Linked DNA regions of Homo sapiens: region 1 is linked to region 2. The links are contacts of gene promoters, found by promoter capture Hi-C in blood cells and fetal thymus (Javierre and others, 2016). All regions are on one chromosome and are shown on one strand. Each heading gives the region's core, a stretch centred on a gene start or on the middle of the fragment in contact. The rest is flanking DNA. Distances are from core to core; before and after follow the strand shown.

The links. The method cuts DNA at HindIII sites, captures the fragments that hold promoters and counts their contacts. A CHiCAGO score of 5 or more calls a contact.
Region 1: a fragment that was not itself captured here is called in contact with the fragment with the promoter of LINC03010 in region 2 in 1 of 17 cell types (naive B cells); the score reaches 5.7 in naive B cells.

Annotation. Positions count from the first base shown.
Region 1 is chr7:157,024,100-157,029,146 of GRCh38, forward strand. No RefSeq gene overlaps it. Among named protein-coding and RNA genes, the nearest start is that of MNX1-AS1, 16 kb to the left of the region's middle. The HindIII fragment of the contact is 1,064 bases long and covers 2,701-3,764 here.
Region 2 is chr7:155,380,685-155,385,717 of GRCh38, forward strand. It overlaps LINC03010 (long intergenic non-protein coding RNA 3010), which reads left to right and starts at 1,392. Exons shown (of 3, transcript NR_147174.1): 1 at 1,392-1,631. RefSeq lists enhancers at 638-1,449, 1,450-2,261. The HindIII fragment of the contact is 8,785 bases long and covers 456-5,033 here.

The DNA.
Region 1 (5,047 bases), core at 1,983-4,482, 1.6 Mb after region 2:
GTCTCCAGAGCTTATTCATCTTAGAACTAAAAGTTTGCGCCCTCTAATATCTTCCCATTCCCCTCCCGCTCCCCCTGCTCCTCCCTCTCCTGGCAGCTATCATTCTACTCTTTTTTTTTCTTTTTGAGATGGAGTCTCTCTCATCTCCCAGGCTGGAGTGCAGTGGCATGATCTTAGCTCACTGCAACCTCCACCTCCCAGGTTCAAGCGACTCTCCTGCCTCAGCCTCCCAAGTAGGTGGGATCACAGGCATGAACCACCATGCCTAGCTAATTTTTGTATTTTTAGTAGTGACAGGGTTTTGCCATGTTGGCCAGTCTGGTCTTGAACACCTGACCTCAGATAATCCACCCGCCTTGGCCTCCCAAAGTTCTGGGATTACAGGCGTGAGCCACCGCCCCTGGCCTATCATTCTACTCTTTGCTTCTATGAATTTGACTTTTTTAGATTCCACATTTAAGGGAGACCAGTCTGGGCAATATAGTGAGACCTTGTCTCTATTAAAAATAAAAAATTAGCCAGGCATGGTGGTACATGCCTGTAATTCCAACTACTTGGGAGGCTGAGGTGGGAGGATCACCTCAGCCCGGGAGTCTGAGGGTGAAGTGAGCTATGATCACACCACTGCACTCCAGTCTGGGTTACAGAGCAAGACCGTGTCTCAAAAAACAAACAAAAACAAGTATTTGTTCATGATCATGCAGTGTTTTGTCTTTTTCTGTCTGACTTACTTCACTTAGCATAAGGCCCTCAAGGTTCATCCATGCCATCACAAATGGCAGGATGTCATCCTTTTTTATGGCTGAATAATATTCCTGTGTGTGTGTGTGTGTGTGTGTGTATCACATTTTCTTTCCATGCATTTGTTGGTAGACAGATTATTGCATGATGTGGCTATTGCAAATAATGCTGTAATAACGATGGGAGTGCAGATGTCTCTTTGAGATATTGACTTTGTTTCTTTTGGGCACAAACCCAGAAGCGGGATGGCTGGGTCATATGGTAGTTCTCATTCTGAATTTTTTGAGGACACTCCAAGCTGTTTCCCGTAATGGCTGCACTAATTCCTATTCCCACCAGCTGCGTAGGGGATTCCTCTTTCTCTCCACCCTCACCAGCACTTACCTATTGTCTTCTTGATAACAGCCATGCTAACAGGTGTAAAGTGCTGCTTGTGATTTTGATGTGCATTTCTCTGATGGTTAGTGGCATTGAGCACCTTTTTGTGTACATGTTGGTCATTTGTATGTCTCCTTTGGAAAAATATGTATTCAGGCCCTTTATCCGTGTTAACGTCAGATTATTACTTTTTTTTTCCTATTGAGATGTATGAGCTACTGATATATTTTGGATATCAACCTTTTATCAGATATGTGGTTTGCAAATGCTTCCTCCCATTCCATAGGTTGTCTTTCCATTTTGTTGACTGCTTTCTTTGCTGTGCAAAAGCTTTCTGATGTGATGAAATTGCCCTACTTCATTTTTGCTTTTGTTTCCTGTGCTTTTGGTGTCAAATCCAAAAATCATTGCCAAGATCAATATCAATGAGATTTCTCCCGTGTTTTCTTCTAGGAGTTTTGCCATTTCAGGTCTTACATTTAAGCCTTTGATCCATTTCGAGTTAATGTTTGTGAGTGGTGTAAGATAAGGGTCAAGGTTTATTCTTATGCTTGTGTGTATCTATTCTCCAACACCGTTTATTGAAGAGATAATACTTTCCCCATTGTCTATTCTTGGCATCCTTGTCAAATATTAGTTAACCTGAGCCAGGCATGGTGTTACGTGCTGTAATCCCAGCTACTTGGTGGACTGAGATGGGAGGATCACTTGAGCCTAGGGGTTCAAGATCAGACTAGGCGCTTTAGTGAGACCCCATCTCTATAGGAAATAAAGTAGAAAAAATATCAGTTAACCGTATATGTGTGGGTTTACTTCTAGGCCCTAGATTTTGTTCCATTGGTCTATGTGTCTGTTTTTATGCCAGAACCATGCTCATTTTTATCACATAGGTTTACAATGGAGTTTGAAATCAGGAAATGGAATGCCTCCTGCTCTGTTCTTCTTTCTCAAGACTGTTTTGGCTATTTGGGGTCTTTTGTGGTTCCATATGAATTTTGGGATTGTTTTTTCTACTTATACAAAAAATGTCATTGGGATTTTGACAGGGATTGCATCGAATTTGTAGATTGCTTTGGGTAGTACCGACATTTTAACAATATTAAGTCTTCTGATTCACGAACAGGGGATGCCTTTCCACTTATTTGTAGCCTTCTTTGATTTCTTTCTTCAGTGTCTTATAGGTTTTATTACACAGATCTTTCGCCTCCTTGGTTAAATTTACATGGAAGTATTTTATTCTTTTTGATGCTATTGTAAATGGGATCATTTTCTTAATTTCCTTTTCAGACAGTTCGTAGTGTATAGAAAGGCTACTGATTTATGTTTGTTGATTTTGTATCCGTCAACTTTACTGAATTTGTTGATCAGTTCTAACAGTTTTTTGTGGAGTCTTCAGGGTTTTCTGTGCATAAGATCATGTCATCTGCAAACAGAGACAATTTTACTGCCTCCTTTCCTATTTGATGCTCTTTATTTCTTTCTTTTGCCTAATTGCCCTGGCTAGGCTAGGACTTCCAGGACAATGTTGAATAGAAGCAGTGACAGTGGGTATCCTTGTCTTGTTCCTGATCTTAGAGGAAAAGCTTTCAGCTTTTCACCATTGAGTATGATGCTAGCGGTGAGCTTTTCATATATGGTCCTTACTATATTGAGGCACGCACGTTCCTTCTACCTTATACATAATTTGTTGAATTTTTTTTTATCATGAGAGGATGTTGAGTTTTGTTAAACACTTTTTATTCATCGAATGAGATGATCATATGGTTTTTGTCCTTCATTCTGTTAATGTGGTATATTGTACTTATTGATTTGTAATATTGAACCATCGTTGCATCCAGAGATAAATCCCACTTGATCACAGGGAATGATCCTTTTAAAGTGCTGTTGAATTCAGTTTGCTGGTGTTTTGTTGCGGATTTTTCCATCCATGTTTATCAGGGATATTGGTCTGTCATTTTCTCTTCTGGCTGTGTCGTTATCTGGCTTTGATGTCAGCAAAATAGTAGACTTGTAAAATGAGTTGGGAAGTGGTCCCTAAAAGGGAGGTTTTTTTTTTTTTTTTTTTTTTTGAGATGGAGTCTCACTCTGTCACCCCCAGGCTAGAGTACAATGGCGTGGTCTTGGCTCACTGCAACCTCCGCCTCCCGGGTTCAAGTGATTCTCTCGCCTCAGCCTCCCAAGTAGCTGGGACTATAGGCACGTGCCACTACACCTGACTAATTTTTGTATTTTTGGTAGAGACAGGCTTTCACTATGTTGGCCAGGCTGGTCTCGAACTCCTGACCTCGTGATCTGGCCTCCCAAAGTGCTGGGATTACAGGCGGGGCTACCGCGCCTGGCCAATAGAGAAGTTTTTAAAATCTTTGAAATTGCCTTCTCTGGCTGCCTTTCATGATGGATCCCAGGAAGGGACAGAGGGGAAGTGACACAGCCTTCACACTCCCCAGTCAGAACGTCCGACCTGGGTGTGTGCAAGGGACACAGGCCTCAACAAGCTGTGAGGGAGCAGACACCAGGAACTGACTTAGACCAGAGGCAGCAACATCTGAGATATGGGAGGATGGGGATCTAGTGGTGGGGAAAGAAAAAAGGGGGCGGAATTCAGGCCAAGGGAATTGTGGAATACTGCCAAATGTGTGATGAGAAGCTTTAGTATTTGCCTGCTGGGCATTAAAATACCATGAATCATTGACAAGAAACCAAACAATGCTGGATCTATATAACAATTTGAACCTATATTGCTCCAAGTAAAATCAAATTAGAAGCCTTTCCCCAATTAGGTTATGCAAACGCTGACACAGAATAGAGTTGTGTTTGCTGTACACATGACGCAACATCCACCTTACACCTCGCACAGCGCAGATACTCTCAAGCACACCCATCTCGACACCGGGGTTGTGTCAACATTCTACCCCTAGATAATAAATACGAGACACAGCACACACTGCTTTTAATTGCATCGATAAACTGGGATTAACCCCCCAAGTCAGGTTTCACTATTGCAATTAAATGTCCTCAAATAAATTGTTTCCTCAATAAACAAATGGAAGGGGCTGTGTTTGCCCTGAATAATAACAGGTGTAATATTTTACTCGCTAAAGTTAAGTATTAAGTGGAATCACTTGCTAGTCCTGATTTATTCCCTGAGATCGGAAAGTCATTTTTCATACGTCATGTGCTGCTTCAGTACTGTATAAACAGCTAATAATGCACTAAATCAACCTGGCACGACCTTGCATTTCACCTAAAGCCACCAAGCTTCAAAATCCTACAGTTGGGTGTTCTCACGAGAGCCAAAGAAAACAGATGTCCTGCAAAAATCGCTGGCTGACTGCTTTTTGGGTTTTTGTCTTTAGCTTCTAAAATTCAAAATGTAAGCATTCCATAAAAACCTCGTGAGTCGTTGAACAAGCCAGTAGCTCTTTATGGACCGTGTTCTCACTGGTCTTCTGGTTGCTGCAGACGAGGCCGGCAGGCTCAGCCTACGGGAAGGCCACAGTGGGAGGACTTCCCCTGCGCCTGGGCTGAGTCCCCACCTTCCACGACCCTGTCCCCTTCATCGGTGAAACAGCACAAGACATTCCTAGAGTGACATTTCTCCCTTAATCACAGAAATGCTTGCCTCATTTTTGATGTGTTTGTGGACGTTGCATGGTTTTCAGGGCTTTTGATGTACATAGGTAAAGTCAGTATATCAATGCTGCCCTTTATTTTTAAGAGGACAGGGAAGGGAAAAGACAGTGAAGTGTCCTTGGAGGTTGGGGGTGAACATTATATTGGTTCTCAAATAACTAGGACCTATTCTTTTTCAATAGCATAGAATAACATTCTTGTTCTAGAATAGTCTACAGGGTGTAGGCCAGCGTTTTCTAAATGGTGAGTGGTGATTTGCTAAGCTATTAATATTTAATATAAACTATTAAAATTA
Region 2 (5,033 bases), core at 142-2,641:
GGATCAGAGAAGCCTCACCACCTAAGGTGGGGAGAGGGGCTGCAGACTGCCCAGCCTGGCCCCAGCCTGCTGGAGGTCCCAGTGCAGAGCCTGCTTGGCGAGACAGAAAGCAAACGAAATCACTCAAGGGAAACTTCGCTGGAGACAAAACACATTCAATTTCCTGAGGATTCTGCTTTCTCTCAGGAATTATTTGCTTTTGCCGAGGCACATTAAACAAATTAAACACTAAAAATGGAAGCTCCTTTGCTTCCTGGCTCAGAAAATAGTTTTTTTTTTAAAGGATATAGTACGAACAGTAATACAAATGAAAGAAAACAGTAACACTCTAGCTCTTTAAAATAAACTCATGTGGGCACCTAAAGTCCTTTTTGGCAAATTCTTATCTTGTGGGGCAGTGCAGACAATGGGAGCTTGTGCTAAACGGCTGCTGTCACTCTGCTGACATTCCAGGAAGCTTCCACGCAGCTACTTGGGCATCTTTTCACACCTTCACCTTCCAAACCGCAGTCCCTGGTGATCCTGACTTTTGCAGCCTGGCTCTGGGTCCACACGGGGCTGGAGAAGGGGATTCGGTCTGAATGGGTTCGTGGAGGGTGGGGCAGGGGGCTGAGCTGAGGAACGCGCTGGCGAGGGAGTCAGATACTGTTACTTCGTATTTTAGGAATGTATTTCTCCTGCACACCCCTCCCTCCCCTGCCCACCCCCCTCTCCCAGTATCATTGCTCTTTGAAATGTCATGAACTTGGCGCTTTCAGACCAAACCGCCGGGCTCAGGCCCGAGACAATGGGATTGTCAGAGGGCCAGCGCGGAGCTTTTTCTGCGTGTTCACGGAGCGTTAAGCCTTTATCCCACAGAACGGCTCTGTCTGACCGGGTCAGACAAAAGCCAACTTGCATCTTCCGCTCCGAGGGGATCTGGGCAGAGCCCGGGTACAGCCCTGCGCGGCCCCAGGGAGAGGGGGGAGAGGGCGCGTGTCCCCAGCCCTGCCAAGTGGCGTGGGGAGCGCGAGGCCCTCCTCGGTCAGAGCCACCAACTCTGGTCTCCGTGGACATCCCCCTTCCCCCGCCCGCTCCCGAGGCTCTAGGGCGGCCTCCTGGCCGCTGCCTTCTCGCACCCAGGGTCTTCGGCCTGGGCTCCACACCTCAGGCCCCTCAAGTAATCGGCCTCTTGGTGGCCGGGCACTGCCTTTCCGGCTGCTCTCTGCACCCGTCTGCCCCTCCGGCCTCCCCTGGCGGCTACAGGCGTCCGGGGCCCTCGCTCCCCAGCTCCAGGCGTCCCGGGAGCCAGGCGCGCAGCGGGGCGAGTTCTCGTGTCCGTGTGAGCGCGGGCGTGTGTATGCGTGCGCGTGCACGAGCGTGAGTGTGCGTGAGCGTGAGTTTGAGTGTGCATGCGGGTGTGAATGTGTACATGTACACGAATGTGAGTGTGAGTGTGCATGAGCGTGAGCGTGCGTGTGCGTGCGAGTGTGCACGAGCGTGACTGTGAGTGTGCGTGCGTGGAAGCGCGGCGGGGAGCCTGGCTGAAGGCCTGCTGCCTGCATGGCTGTCAGAGAAAAACAGAAGTGGGAGCCTGCTGCGGGCTCCGAGAGGACTTGATGGGAGCCCTGGCGCGCGCTGGGCACCGCGCGGTGAGTGTCGGGGGTGGGGGCCGCGGGTCTCCAGCAGCCCCTGCCCTGTGCGGACCGCCGCCCCGAGGGTCCCTGCTTGCGGGTCCGGGGCTGGGCGTGCCTGGCTCCCCCTTGCCCCCTGCTCCACCGGCAGGATTCAAGGGACGAGAGCTCTGGGCTGCGGAGAGTTGCCCTGGCTGGCCCCGTCCTGCAGCAAAGGGCGGGCGGCGCGAGTGGAGTGTGCGGGGCAGGCTGGGCGGCAGAGGGAGCCCAGGGGAGCCCATGGCATGGCACCGCCAGTGTGGGCTTATGAGGAGGTGCAGGCCGGGACCTCAGGCTGTGGGCAGGACCGCAGGCAGCGGCTGGCAGGCTCCAGGCAGGCTCTGGAGGACCCGGGATTTAGGTATTTATGCAGTGAGAAGGCAGGGGTTTGGGTGTTCTTTCTCCCCTCTTCCTCCTTGGAATTCAATTTCTTCGAAGGGCAGGGGGCAGGCCGGGAGGGAGGGACAGAGAAAGAGGCCGCGAGCCACAAATGCCGCCCCCCATCTGTTCAGTAGGGCTCACTTCCTGAGGCAGGGGTCCCTAGCACAGGGTCTGGGGAAGGCAAGGTGGGGGGTATAGGCTACCCAGATAAGGAGGGACTTGCTAGGTAGTGGCCCTGGGTCTTGAGGGGCTGGTTCCATCCCGATTGGTCCCCTGGTGCCTGGAGGGCTGTGGAGGGTCCCAGGCCTAGAGTTGGGGGCTGAGTGGGAGGACGGGCCTCACAACCTGGGATTTCTTTCCAGCTTCTGGGTCTGGATCTGGGCCTCCAGTCCCCAGCTGTGAAGCAGGAAGGGAGGGAGGGAGCCTTTCTGAGACCCTCCAGCCTCTACCCTGCAGGAAGAGGTGGATGTAACCTTGAGCATAACCTTGAGCAAGTCTTCCCAGCTTTTTAGGCCTCCACTTCCTCACCTGTAAAAGGAGCTGATGGGGGTAGACCATGTCGAATGTTACTTCTGGCTGAAACATTTTTTGTTGTGTTTTGTTTTAATTTGTGCAGAGTTGGACCTACTCTCTCATGGTGCAAATTTATTTCATTTCAGTTTCCGAGGCCAGGCATAGAATCCCTGTATATTCCCAGGGACAGTGACGCCTTATGCAGAGGATGGGCAACATAGAAAATAACCCTACCTGGGGGCACAGACAACTTATTCTTTAAAATGACCAAATGAAGCTAAATTGAAACAAAATTTTTTTTAAGTGAAATGAAACCAGTGATGCTGAGACTGAGTTGGCAGGCTGGGGAGGAAGACCTGGAAGCGTGTGTGGGCTCTCTGGGGAGTGCTCCTGGCTGGGTGCGGTCTCGGGTGGCCAGGCTGGGCAGAGGCGTTTCAGGATTTGATGGGAATCTTTGGCCTTGAGCTGTCTCCCCTACCTGCAAAGGCCAAGGCCTTCCCTCCACTGGCTGAAGTTGGTTGGGCTCTGCCCATCCATCCGAGCCTGCAAATTACTCACGGGGGGCTGCTAGTGCTGCCTGTGCAGGCTGGGGCCAGATGGGAACACTTTGTGGGGGCTGGCCAGCCTGGGACAGCAAGCAGCTGCTAGATTATTCCAACCCCTTTCTGTGTTCTTCACACCAGCAGGGGCTGGGGAGGCCGAGAGCCACAGCACAGCTTCAGAGAGGCCCCTTGGAGGTGTTCACAAACCCCCTGCTTCCCAGGAGGGGCACCCAGGTGTAGTTCCAGCCTAGCCTCTTTTCCCACGCCCGCCTTCTCTGGGGGGTGTCTCTGGGGGGTGTCTGGTCTGCGGAGCAGGGTCCAGACTTGCTTGTCTCCACGCTTCTCAACGCCTCCCCTCCACTGCCTCCTGCCTGGCTTCTCAGCAGCGGTGGGTGCTGGAGGTGGACTGGGTCATCTCCCCAGCCTCCCCAGCCTCCCCAGTCCTGCTCACCTGTTGGGGAATCACTGCCTGATTGTCACTTTACCCCTCTGCATCAGCTTCCCGGCATTGCCTTAGCGAAGTGCCACAAACCGGGGGGCCTACACAACAGGAATGTGTTCCCCCACAGGACCGGAGTCCAAAGTCCAGGCGTGGGCAGGGCCCTTCCCGCCCTGTTGGCCTCTGCTGTCTCCAGGAACGCTTGCTCCCTGGGCTCAGAGGTGCAGCATCCCAAAGCCACCTCTGCCTTCGCCATGTGGCTCTCACATGGTGCGCGTCTGCCCTTCCCATCCCGGCTCCTGAAGGAGAGCACTTGGAGAAAAGTGGGGATGCTCTATTGCTGCTCTCCCCACTGCTTGGTGTACCCCTGACGCCCTCCTGGGCCCTCACACCCTGGAGCACCCTGTCCCTGCACCCGCCCTGAACCAGAATCCAGGTCCAGCCAGGGCTGCAGCACAGCAGCACCAACGACGGGCGCATGGGGACAATAGCTGGAGGAGATTTGGGGCTCAGAAGAGAGGGGCTCCGGGGAACCCTCAATTGCTCATTTTGGCAGCATCTCCACTGGGTCTACATGCCAGGCAGCACACAGCCAGGACTTCAGGTTGTGTCCCCTGACTCGGAGTGGAGAAGGGGCAGGTGCTGGACCTGCAAACCTCAGACCCCACGCCTGGCTCCTGCTCTGTCTACGGTGTTTGGGAATTCACTTGGCCTCCAGGAATCGGCTTTCTCCTCTGTGAGATGGGAAGGCCATTCGGTATCCTAAGTACCCAATGGGCTGAAGATCAAACAAGATACAGGGTACGTGAGTTCTAAGAGCAAGGCTGAGTGTCACTGTTGGGGGCGGGGGTCCTTGCTCCCAGAGCTCCCAAGATGGTGGCGGGTGGCTTCCAAGATGGCAGCAAGCCTCTTGCTCTCTGACCTGGGGTTCTTGGCTTCACGGATTCCAAGGAATGAACCCTTGGGCCATGTGGTGAGTGTCATAGCTCTATTAGAAGCCGTGGGTCACAGAAGAGAACCGCGGAACCCAGCGACTAGTGTTCAGCTCGATTAGGATGAACCCGGGCACTTAGCCGTGCAGGAACAATGGTGAGCCTTTAGCCCGATCGGGAGCGGCAATGGGCGCCTCGCTGGATCAGAAGCGCAGTGGACACCCTGCTGGATCCGGAGGGATGGAAGTCGGCGGCGGGTCTGCGACGGCGGCAAACAGCAGTGGTGGACGGCGAGTGAAAGCTCAGCTCCAGCCATAACAAACACGGACCAGAAGAGTGGGCAGTTGCAAGATTTAATAGAGTGAAAACAGAGCTCCCATACAAACGGAGGGGACCCAAAGAGGGTAGCCATTGCCGGCTCGAATGCCTGGGTTTATATCCGGATCACTGTCCCTCCCGCTGTGCTCTCAGGCAATAGATGATTGGCTATTTCTTTACCTCCTGCTTTTGCCTAATTAGCATTTTGGTGAGCTCTCTTTACTACCTGATTGGTCGGTTGTGAGCTAAGTTGCAA